Regions from separate parts of the Homo sapiens genome. Here all the other regions are linked to region 1. The links are contacts of gene promoters, found by promoter capture Hi-C in blood cells and fetal thymus (Javierre and others, 2016). All regions are on one chromosome and are shown on one strand. Each heading gives the region's core, a stretch centred on a gene start or on the middle of the fragment in contact. The rest is flanking DNA. Distances are from core to core; before and after follow the strand shown. Region 1 holds the start of PPIG (peptidylprolyl isomerase G). Region 2 holds the start of HAT1 (histone acetyltransferase 1). Region 3 has its middle 2.3 kb from the start of DYNC1I2.

Region 1 (4,575 bases), core at 1,457-3,956:
GACCTCGTGATCCACCCATCTCAGCCTCCAAAAGTGCTGGGATTACAGGCATGAGCCACCACGCCCGGCCCCAAAAAGCATTTTTAAATCCTTACCTATGGGATAATAAATGTTGTTTCAAGCCACTAAGATACAAGGGGACAGCTAAAAAATGTAGTTCTTAGCAGAACAGACACTTTCCAGTGACACCCCCTACTATGTAAGTGGGAGTACAAATTTTGGAGCTGTTACTGCTATGTTAGTAAAATACTTCTCTGGCATTTGATGATTCGGGCTGGCAGAAACTCAGATCCTTATGATGTGAGGTCATCACTGGGTGAGGTGGTACATACCTGTAGTCCCAGCTACTCTGGAGACTAAGGTGGGAGAATCGCTTGACTCCAGGAGTTCAAGTCCATCCTGAGCAACATAATGAGACCCTGTCTCTAGAAAAAAAGAAAAAAAATGAAGCTATGTAGAATTAGACAAGTGAAAAGTTCCGTGATAATCAGTCTATTCTTTCTTCTCTGTGTCAGTTATCCCTTGCTGTGTGACAAAATCATCCCAAAACTTAGTGGCTTAAACAACACTTATTTATATATATATACACATATATACACACACACGTACATATATGTGTGTGTATATATATGTATATATACACATATATAGTATATGTATACATACACACACTAGGATAATAAATATATATATAAATATATATAAGGAAACTATAGGATAACAAATGTTGTTTATTATATACACTATACATACAGTATCCTTCCATTTATTTATTTTTATTTAAGTTGTGGGGTACATATGCAGGTTTGTTACAGAGGTAAACTTGTGTAATGGGGGTTTGTTGTACAGAATATTTCATCACCTAGGTATTAAGTCTAGGACCCATTAGTTATTTTTCCTGATCCTCTCCCTCCTCCCACTGTCTACACTCTGATAGGCCCCAGTGTGTATTGTGCCCCTCTATGTCTTCATGTGTTCTCATCATTTAGCTCCCACTTATAAGTGAGAACATGTGGTACTTGGTTTTCTGTTTCTGCATTAGTTTGCTAAGGATAATGGTCTCCAGCTCCATCCATGTTCCTGCGAAGGGCATGAGATCATTCTTTTTCATGGCTGCATAGTATTCCATGGAGTATATGTACCACATTTTCTTTATCAAGTCTACCATTGATGGACATTTAGGTTGACTCCATGTCTTCGCTATTGTGAATAGTGTGGCAATGAACATACATATGTGTATGTCTTTATAACAGAACAACTTATATTCCTTTGGGTATATACCCAGTAATGTGATTGCTGGGTCAAATGGTATTTCTGCCTCTAGGTCTTTGAGGAATCGCCACGCTGTCTTCCACAATAGTTGAATTCATTTAAACTCCCACCAGCACTGTAAAATGTTCCTTTTTCTCCACAACCTCACCAGCACCTGTTATTTTTTGACTTTTTAATAATAGCCATTCTGACTGGTATGAGATAGTATCTCACTGCGGTTTTGATTTGCATTTTTCTGATGATTGGTGGTGTTGAGCTTTTTCATTATGATTGTTGGCTGCAAGTATGTCTTCTTTCGAAAAGCGTTGGCCGGGCGTGGTGGCTCACACCTGTAATCCCGGCACTTTGGGAGGCCAAGGAGGACGGATCACCTGAGGTTGGGAGTTTGAGACCAGCCTGACCTACATGGAGAAACCCTGTCTCTACTAAAAATACAAAAAATTAGCCAGGCCAGTCTGTGGCCCAGGGGTTGGGGACCCCTGTTTTAAGGTATTGCAGAATTGTCCCCTCCACACACAGCGAAGTGTAAATCCGTTTAATCTCTGAACTATCTAAAGATGAATATGCTGCTGCTCTCCTGCAATAAAGGGCAATGACTTAAAAGAGGTGGGGGTGGAGAGGCAGAAATGTCCTCTGTTTTACTGCTGTGTAAAACTGGTCACGCCCCTTAGAAGCACCACCACATGCCTAACTGTTGTTGATAATTAATTTACCTGATGCAAGTGAGTGAAAAATTTAAATGATCATAATTTACGTTGCCTTTAAACGACAGAACAATTTAAGTCCTCTAGTTAGCTAGTTCCTTTAAAACACACCCCACATCCCTACCAGAATCACTGCCCATCCCCCCCCACCCCCCCGCCCAAACAGCAATGGTTATTTATTTCTAACATAATCCGGGGACCCTTGCCCCTTAAAATAATTAAATAATATATGCCATATTTTCTCTAGAAGGCACTAGATTTGGCATCAAAAGACTTGCTTTGGCATTCAAGAACAGTGTGTTTGAGGAGGAGGCGTTTATCTTCCCTGAGCCTCAATTTCTTTATCTGTAAAACAACAAAGAACATCAAAGCTCTTTGTAATTTCTTCCTCTTTCCTCAAATAACACTTTGCTCATTACTGCGTTTTTAGAACTTATATCCTAGCGTTAAGTGGAAGCTTAACTGGAAGCTCCATGAAGGTAGGCCTTCCTTTCTGATAACCTAGCGTAAGATCAATAAATGTTTATTAAATGAGGCACTTTACTTCACAAAGGATATGGCATTTTAACGGTTACAAGCGTTCCCAGTCAACGCATCCACAAAGCATTAGGCCACCTATAAACTAGGAATTTAAAAGGCACCAAAATCCTAGAAGTCCTAGGAGGGCGTGGTGACGCAAGCAGGTGAACGCTGGCCGATGCTGACAACCCACTCCTGACGCGCTTCCGGTGCGACGCTGTCTCTCCATGCCAGGACTGAGTTGTGGGGGAGGGAGGCGGTTAGCGGGCTTTAGCGCCTTTTCTGGCGGCGGTAGATTTGAAGCGCTTCAAAGGACCGGACCCAGAGAAGAGGAAAACTCTACCGGTGCAGGTAAGTGGTATGAGGCTCAAGTTGTTCTGGCGGCGTCATTTCAGCAGTCCCTGCGTACGAAAGCGGGAAGGGCCTGGGAAGAGGGGCGGAGCCGGCGCGGCTGACCGGGTTGGGTTTACCGTCTTTCCCTCGAGGTATCGGGGCTGCTTGGGCCCAGAGGAAGTCCCTGAGGACCGCAGCAGTGCCTTTGCCGCTGTTGCAGAAGGAGAAGGCTTGCAGTCGAGCCCCGGGGCCTGGGGACGGTCCTTCCTCTGCCAGCCCCCGCCCTCCCCACTCAGGCGCACACCTCCCTCACTGACGCATTTTGCCGCACAAGCTGTAACATGGCGGCAGCGACTGCGGCCTGAACTCTAGGGAGCCGGGTTGATTTTTAAAGCTTCAAAATCCTAAGACTCAGCACTGTTGCGGGGTAGGTGGCGGGACTGGTGGGGAAGGGGGAGACAGCCTGACGTCCTGTCAGGCTAGGGTTGGAGAGTGACGGGCGAAGAGCCTGAATCACAGGGATTAAAATTGAAGACTAGCTTTCCTCCTCTTTCGACCTTTTCCTCTCACAGCACAGTGGCTGTCGTGCAGTTAAGTGGCAGAGGCCACTTTGTTAAGCATTTTTCTAAAACTCAAGTCCAGGGTCTTGAGCTCTCGCGAAGTTCCCCCGTGTTTCGGAGGAGCTGTGAGCTGCGCAGGCCTTTTAGGAGGAGATAATTACTCTTTAGGAGGAAGATGATGATTTCGGGGCTCAGTATGCCTGAAGGGGAAGTATGCTAATTTGGTTCTTGGTTAGTCTTTTTTTTTGAGACGGAGTCTCGCTCTGTCGCCTAGGCTGGAATGCAGTGGCGCGATCTTGGCTCACTGCAACCTCCGCCTCCTGGGTTCAAGTGATTCTTCTGCCTCAGCCTCCCAAGTAGCTGGGACTACAGGCACGTGCCACCATGCCCGGCTAATTTTTTGTGTTTTTAGTAGAGACGGGTTTTCACCGTGTTAGCCAGGATGGTCGATCTCCTGACCTCGTGATCCGCCCACCTCGGCCTCCCAAAGTGCTGGGATTACAGGCGAGAGCCACCGCGCACGGCCAGCTCATGTTTAGTCTTAAGGAGCAAAGTCTAGATGTGCTGGCAAGGAGTATGCACAATCGTTTTGGAAATGCTATAAAAGCACCATTTTGTGCATTGATTTTAATTTCTTTCCACGATAGCCCTTTCTGTGTGTAACCAACATTTTGCAGTAGTGAACACAAATACAAAAGTATTTGCTTTTATAGTTTGGTACTAACATAGTTGTCCAAAGAACAATTAGATGTTTTAGAAATTAGGGGGGCCTGATATTAACTTTCAGTAGTTAAAACCAGGAAAAAAGAGTGAGTGTGTGTGTGTGTCGGTCACACACACGTTTTTGTCTTTGTGTATTCCCATTTGGTAACAGGATGGCCGGTAATTGCTACTTTGTAACAATGACGGGTGGGGGGGTGAACATTTTATAAATTTTGAAATCGTGCTATAAAATCCAGAAAAGATACATTTAGAATGGCTGCTTCTCTCCTGTTTTTAATATATCCTGAAAATTTACCCGTTTTAGCACTCCCCTTTTTTTTATGTTAACGAGTTGGGACAGAATTATTTCTGTAACAAATTACATGGTTCTGTGTCTTAAACAAGAGTTCATTGTACATTGTTTGACTATTTCTTTATGATTCAGAATTATTGATGCTCTGAGATCCTATAGGGTCTTGTAGTAG
Region 2 (4,575 bases), core at 1,114-3,613, 2.3 Mb after region 1:
GTTCAAGCGATTCTACTGCCTCAGCCTCCCAAGTAGTTGAGATTACAGGCTCATGTCACCACGCCTGGTTAATTTATTGTACTTTTTAGTAGAGACAGGGTTTTACCATGTTGGCCAGGCTGGTCTCAAACTCCTGACCTCAGGTGATCTGCCTGCCTTGGCCTCCCAAGTGCTGGGATTACAGGTGTGAGCCACCGTGCCTAGCCAAAAATGATTATTAAAGAAAAAGATTGTTTTCCTTTTTTGATCCATAATGTCATTAGTCTCATTGATTTCAGTTTTCTGTCTTAACATTATGACTGTAATTTCTTTTTTTTTTTTTGAGACGGGGTCTCGCTCTTGCCCAGGCTGGAGTGCAGTGGCGGGATCTCGGCTCACTGCAAGCTCCGCCTTCCAGGTTCACGCCATTCTCCTGCCTCAGCCTCCTGAGTAGCTGGGACTGCAGGCACCCGCTACCACGCCCGGCTACTTTTTTTGTATTTTTAGTAGAGACAGGGTTTCACCATGTTAGTCAGGATGGTCTGGATCTCCTGATCTCGTGATCCGCCCGCCTCGGCATCACAAAGTGCTGGGATTACAGGCGTGAGCCACCACGCCCGGCCTATGACTGTAATTTCTTGTGTATCATTAGGTTTCAAGAAAAAGGATCTTGAAACCTTTTCTTGGGATCACGACTGTAATCCCAGCACTTTTGGAGGCCGAGATGGGCAGATCATCTGAGGTTGGGAGTTCGAGATCAGCCTAACCAACATGGAGAAACCCCGTCTCTACAAAAATACAAAATTGCTGGGTGTGGTGGCGCATGCCTGTAATCCCAGCGACTCAGGAGGCTGAGGCAGAAGAATCGCTTGAACCCGGGAGGCGGAGGCTGTGGTGAGCTGAGATTGTGCCATTGCACTCCAGCCTGGGCAACAAGAGTGAAACTCCGTCTAAAAAAAAAAAAAAAAAAAAGAAAGAAAAAGGATCTGGGCATTCTCAGTACCTTTTCTGATCTTTATCTTCAGGAAAGCCATCTCTATATAGTTGAGCAAATAAATACTGGGCTGAGTATCTGATGAACTGCACTCTGCATAGGTTGCATACTGAGAATGAACTTGGGCAGTTTATCTTTTCTGGGCTTTGGTTTCCTCATCTCTAAAATGAGAGGGCGTGTTAGTTCTAGACCATCATCCCAAGGGTCCATTTTAGCTTTAGCGTGCATCACTGTAAAACCTGTTAACAAATATTTGTTGAGATAAGGAATTCTGGTGTATAGCCAACATTGTGGGAATATTTGTGGATACCTAAATAGTGGTTTATCCTCTGGGGAAAGCAGTTCCTACAGCTACTAAATACTAACAAGGCCTATGGCTAAAATCAGGTAGCACCTTGTGATGTAATTCAAACCACTAGGACATGTGGCATGCAAGACTACATCAGGCTACTTGAGGTATTTATTAGGTAACAATTTTTTTTTTTTTTTGAGACGGAGTCTCACTCTGTTGCCCAGGCTGGAGTGTAGTGGCGCAATCTCGGCTCACTGCAACTTTCGCCTCCAGGGTTCAAGCGATTCTCCTGCCTCAGCCTCCCGAGTAGCTGGGATTACAGGCGCCTGCCACCATGCCTGGCTAATTTTTGTATTTTTAGTAGAGACGGGGTTTCACTATGTTGGCTACACTGGTCTCGAACTCCTGAGCTCAGGCAATCTACCCGCCTCGGCCTCCCAAAGTGCTGGGATTATAGGCGTGAGCCACCGCGCCCGGCCTAGGTAACGATTTTTGCGCGCTAAACGGTTCTTAGTAACCTGCAGAGTGAAAGCAGAGTACCTAAATATCATACTGTATACGTTAAAAACAGGGGAGAAAGGAAAAAAGGTGTTAAAGTTTACAGCAAAATGAGAAACAAATGAGGAAAACAAGTGAAAGCTTCTCCCGCAACTGAAACTCAACCTCTACATTTTACCTAGGTAAAATGGTAAAATTGCCCACAGGGCTCAGGTGTTTGGATGCACTGTCCAGGCCAAGAGGAAAGATTTTCAGCCAGTCTCCAAAACATCTCAGGGACGGGTATGGAAAACAGGCGTAAAGTGTCTGTATTGATCAAATCAACCCCAGAGAAACTTTCCTAGGGCCAGAGAGCATCTCAACCGCGAAAGTCCGTTTGCGGCCTCCTTCTCCACTTCAGGCCTGCAAAGCGGCTGACGGCATTCGCAGTGGCTAGGCAACGGCCCGCGCAGACTTCTCGGCGTTAGCCCCGCCTCTTGAGGCGCTTCCGCCGCCGGGCTCCTGGACACGCCTCCTTTAATTGGCTAACGTCACGCTGGGAGTGGGCGGGGAAAATATGTCAGACTGTGCGGTCACTTCCGGCCCGGGAGCGCGCGGGTTGATTCGTCCTTCCTCAGCCGCGGGTGATCGTAGCTCGGAAATGGCGGGTAAGTTACCGGGAAAAGTTTACCAAGGGGAGGAGGCGGCCAGATCGGGGATAGAACGCCGAGACGGTGGTGACAATGCCCGCCTAGAACTTTCGGGCTGTAGCCTGGGTTCCAGAAGGCCTGCTTGGGACCGGAAGCGCGGAACTCTCAGCCCAGCAGCTCCTTGTTGGCGGCGGTCCGCGCCCCCGCCCCCAACTGCTTGGGGTTCTGCGCCTTCTGCCAGCAATCCGGCCCCTACCGAGGGCCGAAGACGCCAGGGAAAAGCGTCATGATTTGGGCTCGTAAAATGCCACATGCCTTGGGGCCTGTTTCTCTTCCCATTCCTTTTGTCCACTGCTGCTTGCTTCAGCTCTTGTACATCTGGTCCTGTTCCCGCCAGCTGATTTTAATGCTCAGATCCTCCTCCTCTTCCAGGTCTCCGTCTACCTTCCACTACAGTCAACTTCTGAGCTAGCGCATTGCTGCCTTGCCCTGCTCTGGCGCTCCCACTTGGATCTCGACTGACTTCGTAGTCGTCTCGTTAATCTGTCACACTTTAGTATTCCGAGGATCGTATTTAGATGCCCTTTGAGAAAGACTTTGTTCCTGAACTGCTCCCTTCTCTTTTAGGGTTGGACTACTATAATACAATTCTCTTGTGTACATTCTAGAGACCCTTCAAGTTACAACATTTAATAATGTATAATTGCTATTACTTTGTACGTGTATTAAGGCTGTTTTGGTGTGATTATTTTTTTCGATTACTTATCTTTTGAAGTTATGGACAGTTTCTTTTTCCTGAGACAGGGTCTCTCTGTCGCCCAGGCTGGAGTGCAGCGATCATAGTTCCGGGCAGCTTCCAACTCCTCGTAGGCTCAAGCGATCCTCTTGCCTCAGCCTCCCGAGTAGCTAGGACTACAGGCATGCGCCACAACATTCGGCTAAAAAAAAACAATTTTTTTTAACCTTTTAGAGACAGAGTCTGGCTGTATTGCCTCAGGCCGGTCTGGAACTCTTGGCCTCAAGCCATCCTCTCGCCTCAGCTTCCCAAAGTGTTGGAATGACAGGATTGAGCCACTTCGCTGGCCTTTGTTGCTTTTATCATCTCTTTACAGGGCATTCCTCATAGTCTCTCTACATTAACCATTCCATTTTTATGAATATGTGGGATAGACAAGCTGTTGTGTGAGCTCTACAGATGTTTAAAGAAGGACTTTTCTACCAGATGGAGATTGTAGGATCTTGAAGTACCACAGAAGAGGGAGGACGTACTCTAAGAATTACATCTAAATTCGAATTTTGGGCCCATCATTTAGTAGTTGGATGCCCTTCAACTAAACCTCTTTCTAAGCCTGAACTTTTGAATGTAAAATGGGGTTGATGTAATACCTACTTATAGAATTGTGCAGATTGAGCTAATATATGATTTCACAGGTTAAATTTTGTTGCTTACATTCCTCGAAGTAAATTCTGTAATCTCGGTTCTGTAGATTAGGGTCAGAGGGGTTAAGTAATGTGCTCTAGTTCCCTGAGCTTACTAGCTCAGTAAGTGTGTGAAATAGTCAGAATCCAGGAATTCTCACTCCAGACTATTAATCTGTACTGCTTCAAGTCTTTCCCATTTTCTGTGTGTGTGTTTTAACCCCTTTTTGAAGTTTATAGCACATCATTGTACCCCTTTTTATTTTTTGCTTATGGCTTTTTTCTGTCTGAATTTTTACTGATTTTTTTTTTTTTTGGAGACTGAGTCTCGCTCTGTCACCAGGCTGGAGTGCAGTGGCGCGATCTCGGCAACCTTTGCCTTCTGGATTCAAGCAATTCTGCCTCAGCCTCCGGAGTAGCTAGGACTACAGTCACGCGCCACCACGTCCAGCTAATTTTTGTATTTTTAGTGGAGATGGGGTTTCACCATGTTGGCCAGGATGATATCCGTCTCGACCTCGCGATCCCCCTGCCTCGGCCTCCCAAAGTGCTGAAATTACAGGCGTGAGCCACCGCGCCCAGCCCATTTTTACTAATCATATGCCCATTTTGTCAGGAGATTTGTTATCTTGAAAGTTTCTCTTGATAGTGATATCTTCCAATGTTATTTATTATGTATATTATTGAGTAGCCACTATGTAGTAAAACTATTGTGCCAGTAGCTCACAGTTTATGACTTTAGGCATACATGATTTTTAAATATT
Region 3 (4,575 bases), core at 1,295-3,794, 2.1 Mb after region 1:
ACAGAGAAAATATGTGCATCAAGACAAGTAGAGGAAATAATGAAAAAAAAAACCTATATTAAGTTAACAATGCAGCAAACACTCCAAAGGGAAAAATACAGACTAGAACAATAATAAGGATAATAGAAAAGTAATGCTGTTAAATTATCAGAGACCTGCTGGTCAGCTCATGAACACTCCCCTGAGTGAAGATAGTTTCCTAAAGAGCTTCTCTTAGACATGAGAGCAAATGGGAAAGTTAAGAGAGTTTCCAAAGTTGGAAGAAAATATTTTCTCATGCCAATGTTTCTAAGAGTCAAATACATTTACTGAAGGTGAAGTGGAAATATTTAGAAAAAAATTAAAAACACAAGTGACTCAGGAAGAGCTGTTAACATGTGAAGAATGAACAATCTCAAGATTCCACAGGCAATCTGGTAGAAACCTCATGAACTTAACCAAAGTGAAATCTTAGAGGACCTCTGATTAAAATGTGGAAAAAATAATAACAATCCAATATTTATGAAAAGGTCCTGGAAAATGTTCTTTGCATGGTAAGAAGGTCACACAAATGTATGTATTAGATTTTATACATGTCATTTTAGCAAAGTTATAAACCAATCAAGTGACATTTACGCAAGAGCATTAAAAATATAATTACTAGAAAGCTTCATGCATTGCTATGGGGCCACAGCTTTCTTTTCACAACATAATTTCATTAAAAACTTGTATGATGAGGATGTATATAACAAGGTTGTCAACAAATGGCTATAAATGTTCTAGCTGATTACTTGGGACTTACTAGAGTTCCTGGAATATTTTGAGATGCCTGAACTGCTGGGTAGCAGAATACATTTTTAACCCCTTCAAATTCCTTCCTCTTCCAATTTGGTGTCTGCTACATCTTTTTGATGTTTTATACATTTGTTTAAGTCCCATGGTTTAATAGCTACTTTTTTCTTAACTATTTTTTGAATATAACATACATACAATAAAAAGGACCCATGTTAAGAGTAGAGGTCAATGAATGTTTTACAGATATGTAAATGTGTGTAACCCCCACCAGATGAAGAAATGAAACATTCCCAGCACCGCAGAAACCTCCCCATATCCCTTGCCATCAATATCCCTATACCTCAATAGCCACTATTCTGACATTTCATTAGATTAGTTTTACCTTCTTTTGCATTCTATATAAATGAAATCCTGCATTATGTCAATATATTAATTGTATTAAAATTTTGCAAACATTGGCATATTGAATTCAAGTGTAAATCCAGATATGAGTTTGTTCAACAAATTCATCTGTATATATTATATTTCTACCCTCTCCTACAAACCATTATAAGAAGTTTTAAAATGCAAATTCTCCCCTTCGAAAACACCCTGCAGCACTAATGCTTATTAGGACTCCTCCCCAGCCCTTCCAACTTAAAAAGTAGGAAGACATAGTGGTTTGAACTATGTAATGTCCAGGGTACAGTCTTTCTAATCAGTGCTGCTAATGCATTTCTTCAAAAAAGTGTTAAAAATAAAACAACAAAAAAGTGGGGGGTTTTTTAGTTACGTATTTCATATCTTAAAACATTTTTTTAAATTTTATTTATTTATTTAAGCAATAGGATGTCACTCTGTCACCCAGGCTGGAGTGCAATGGTGTGATTATAGTTCACTGCAGCCTCAAATTCCTGGATTCAAGCAAACCTCCCGCCCTTAGCCTCCCAAGTCGCTGGGCCTACAGGTGAGTACCATCATATTTAGCTAATTTTAAAATTTTTTACAGAAATGGGGTTTTGCCATCTTGCCCAGGCTGGTCTCGAACTCCTGGGCTCAAGTGATCCTCCCACCTTGGCCTCCCAAAGTGCTGGGATTATAGGCATGAGCCACTGTACCCACTCAAAAGCTACATTATCCAGCCAGTATATTGAGTGGTTTTCAGTGGGAAGAGGTATCTAGTCTGCTTTATTGCTGTAGAAGTCTCACATAATGTTAACATTTCTCCAATCCATCTACTTTTCTTAATTCTCACTGATGATGCATCAGTTCATGCATTTATAATTGCTGGCTCTACCCAAATTCTTCCAGTTGCATTCCCTGCTTCCAGTCTCTACCTTACCTCTTTCTCCACCTCTCATCCCTCTAGGCAAGCTGTATCAACAAGGGTCTCAACAAGAAACAGAATTCACAAGATAGTTCACATGAAAATACTTTAATGAAAGGACAAGTTACAGAGGGGTGAGCGGGTATTAAGGGAACAAACGAGATGATGAGGCACTCAGAGACTAGCTACAGAGGAGGTGTTCAAGAGATAAAAGGAGAACATAAAATCACCAGACAGCCCGGGGAAAACTAGAGCCATGGTGAAAGAGCCATCTGGCAGGTACTGTAGTCATGAAGGAATGAAGCTATTGCTGGACATCTGACACTCAAAGAAGGAAGGAGCAAGGAAGAGATGCCCCAATTTCCCTTTCTACCCACCTTCTGATATCCTTGCCTTGGCCTTCTTTATGTCCAACCACAAAGCAGTCCTTAAAGAAACTGAGGTCAACCCTCAGAGGCATAGAGCTTAGCAAAGAAGGGCAGGAAATGAATCTGGGGGGCAAAGAAAATAACCAGCACATTAGTCTTTCTCCGGACTACTTTGAAAGGCCAGTCATCTAAAATGCAAACCTTCTCATACCTTGCACCCTCTTAAAATCTACCAGTGGATTCACATCATCTGTAGGACTAAATCTAAACTGGGATGTGCGACTTTGCCCCTGCTTATGGCTTCATTCCCCAGTTCCTGTCTTAGCCTACGGCCATTGTGAATTATTTCCAAATTCACCAGCATTCTATGCTCTCACACCTCTGTCCTTTGTCCATATTCTTTTCTCTTCCCAAGGCACCTTTCTGCATCTTCTCTGCTTGGCTAACTTCTTCTACTCAACCTTTGAGAATCAAAGACTTAGCTCTAGAATCACCTCCTTCCAAAAGTTTCCTGAAAAGTTTTTCCAGGTGTTTCTATGACTTCCTTATATAATTCCATCATTATACAGATGCTCCTTGAGTTATGTCCTGATAAACCCATTTTAAGTCAAAAATATATGTTGAAAATGCATTTTACTCTAATAAGCCCATTGTAATGAGAAAAAAATCATAAGTTAAACCATCAGTCAGGAACCATCCATTCTTAGTTGAGCGAGTGTCCTTTCTCCCTTGAGAAGAAGGATGTGCATTTTTGTGCATTTTTATGTTTTTTGTTTTTTTTGTTTCTTTTTCTTTTTTTTTTTTTTGAGGCAGGGTCTTGCTCTGTCTCCCAGGCTGGAATGCAATTGTGTAATCTCAGCTCACTATAACCTCCGCCTCCTGGGCGCAAGCCATCCTCCTGCCTCAGCCTCGTGACTAGCTAGGACTACAGGCGCATGCCACACACCCTGCTAATTTTTCTATTTTTTGTAGAGACGGGGTTTCACCATGTTGCCCAGGCTGGTCTCTAAGTCCTGAGCTCAGGTGATCTGCCTGCCTCGGCCTCCCAAAGTGCTGGGATTACAGGTGTGAGCCACTGCGCCTGGTCCATTTTAGCTGTTACCACAACACCCATCACCATTGCTGGCACATGGTAGGCAATCAATAATAATTTTTTTTCAAATTAATACATGAAAACTATTAGGAAAGAAGTAAAAAAATAACATAGCTATAAAGCTCTTTGAATGTTAGGTTATTGGGAAAAGCTGTGGAAAGCCAAGGATTTTCTTTCTCAAATTTATTTTTAGAATATTTTTTTCTACACAAAAGACCACAGATAAGGCAGAGAAAGATAAGAAAAAGACCACAAGCCCAAGGACTTGGAATTTGAATCATAAAGGTTCATTCTAGACTTGGGCAATATCTAGAACTTCTAGAACAATCAGTTTTCTAGAACATAGAAAAGATATTACCTTGGTGTTAGCTTTAACTCCTGCCAAATAATGCTTTAAATTATTTAAACTTTAAAAAGGTGTGTCAATGTATACATTGCAGGTAAATTCATGTTCCAGTAACTTTTGTTTTCTTTGTATGTTAAAAATCTAACTGTGGAAAACATTCTAGCTTGGTTTGAGAGTCCAATAATACAAAATGCTTTATTTCCTAAAATTGTTTGAGAGAAAACCAAAATGCTACCACACTGCAACAAAATACTAAAGAATTATTTGCTATGTCAGTTGACATATTTTTATTTAGATTTTGCCTAAGATGCCACATGAAGCCTATATAAGACATTCTTTCCCTAAAACTTACATATGTATGTACATATATATATATAATGTTTTACATCCTAAACAGTCTACTTCACGTCTTCACCAAATGTGCAGCAGCGTGATTCACAGGTTCACCACTGGAAAATAGACCTTAAAATTCCGCCAATATTGGGTCAAAGATCTTACACTATAACACATACTACACTGTGGGCACGGATCAACAGACGAGAATACTTTATACAGAAGCTTCTCGACGGAAGAAGGCCTTGGAGTGGGAAATCTAAAGGAGGGGACACACTACATGTCCCAGCACACCTTGCGACGCCCAGCGACCACAATTCCCAGAACGCACTGCTCGTCGCACGCAGGTTTTCCT

What was found. Contacts are between HindIII fragments. The CHiCAGO score rates a contact against its expected background, and 5 or more counts as called.
Region 2: the fragment with the promoter of HAT1 here is called in contact with the fragment with the promoter of PPIG in region 1 in 1 of 17 cell types (total B cells); the score reaches 8.2 in total B cells.
Region 3: a contact is called between a fragment that was not itself captured here and the fragment with the promoter of PPIG in region 1, in 1 of 17 cell types (non-activated CD4 T cells). The highest score is 9.0, in non-activated CD4 T cells.

What each region holds. Positions count from the first base shown.
Region 1 is chr2:169,581,645-169,586,219 of GRCh38, forward strand. It overlaps PPIG (peptidylprolyl isomerase G), which reads left to right and starts at 2,707. Exons shown (of 14, transcript NM_004792.3): 1 at 2,707-2,846. RefSeq lists an enhancer at 2,623-2,672. The HindIII fragment of the contact is 789 bases long and covers 2,432-3,220 here.
Region 2 is chr2:171,920,098-171,924,672 of GRCh38, forward strand. It overlaps HAT1 (histone acetyltransferase 1), which reads left to right and starts at 2,364. Exons shown (of 11, transcript NM_003642.4): 1 at 2,364-2,410. The coding sequence starts at 2,404. It overlaps LOC105373740 (a long non-coding RNA gene), which reads right to left and starts at 2,292. Exons shown (of 3, transcript XR_923579.2): 1 at 1,942-2,292; 2 at 983-1,134. RefSeq lists enhancers at 1,800-2,448, 2,589-2,638. The HindIII fragment of the contact is 14,743 bases long and covers 1,903-4,575 here.
Region 3 is chr2:171,682,874-171,687,448 of GRCh38, forward strand. No RefSeq gene overlaps it. Among named protein-coding and RNA genes, the nearest start is that of DYNC1I2, 2.3 kb to the right of the region's middle. The HindIII fragment of the contact is 3,798 bases long and covers 646-4,443 here.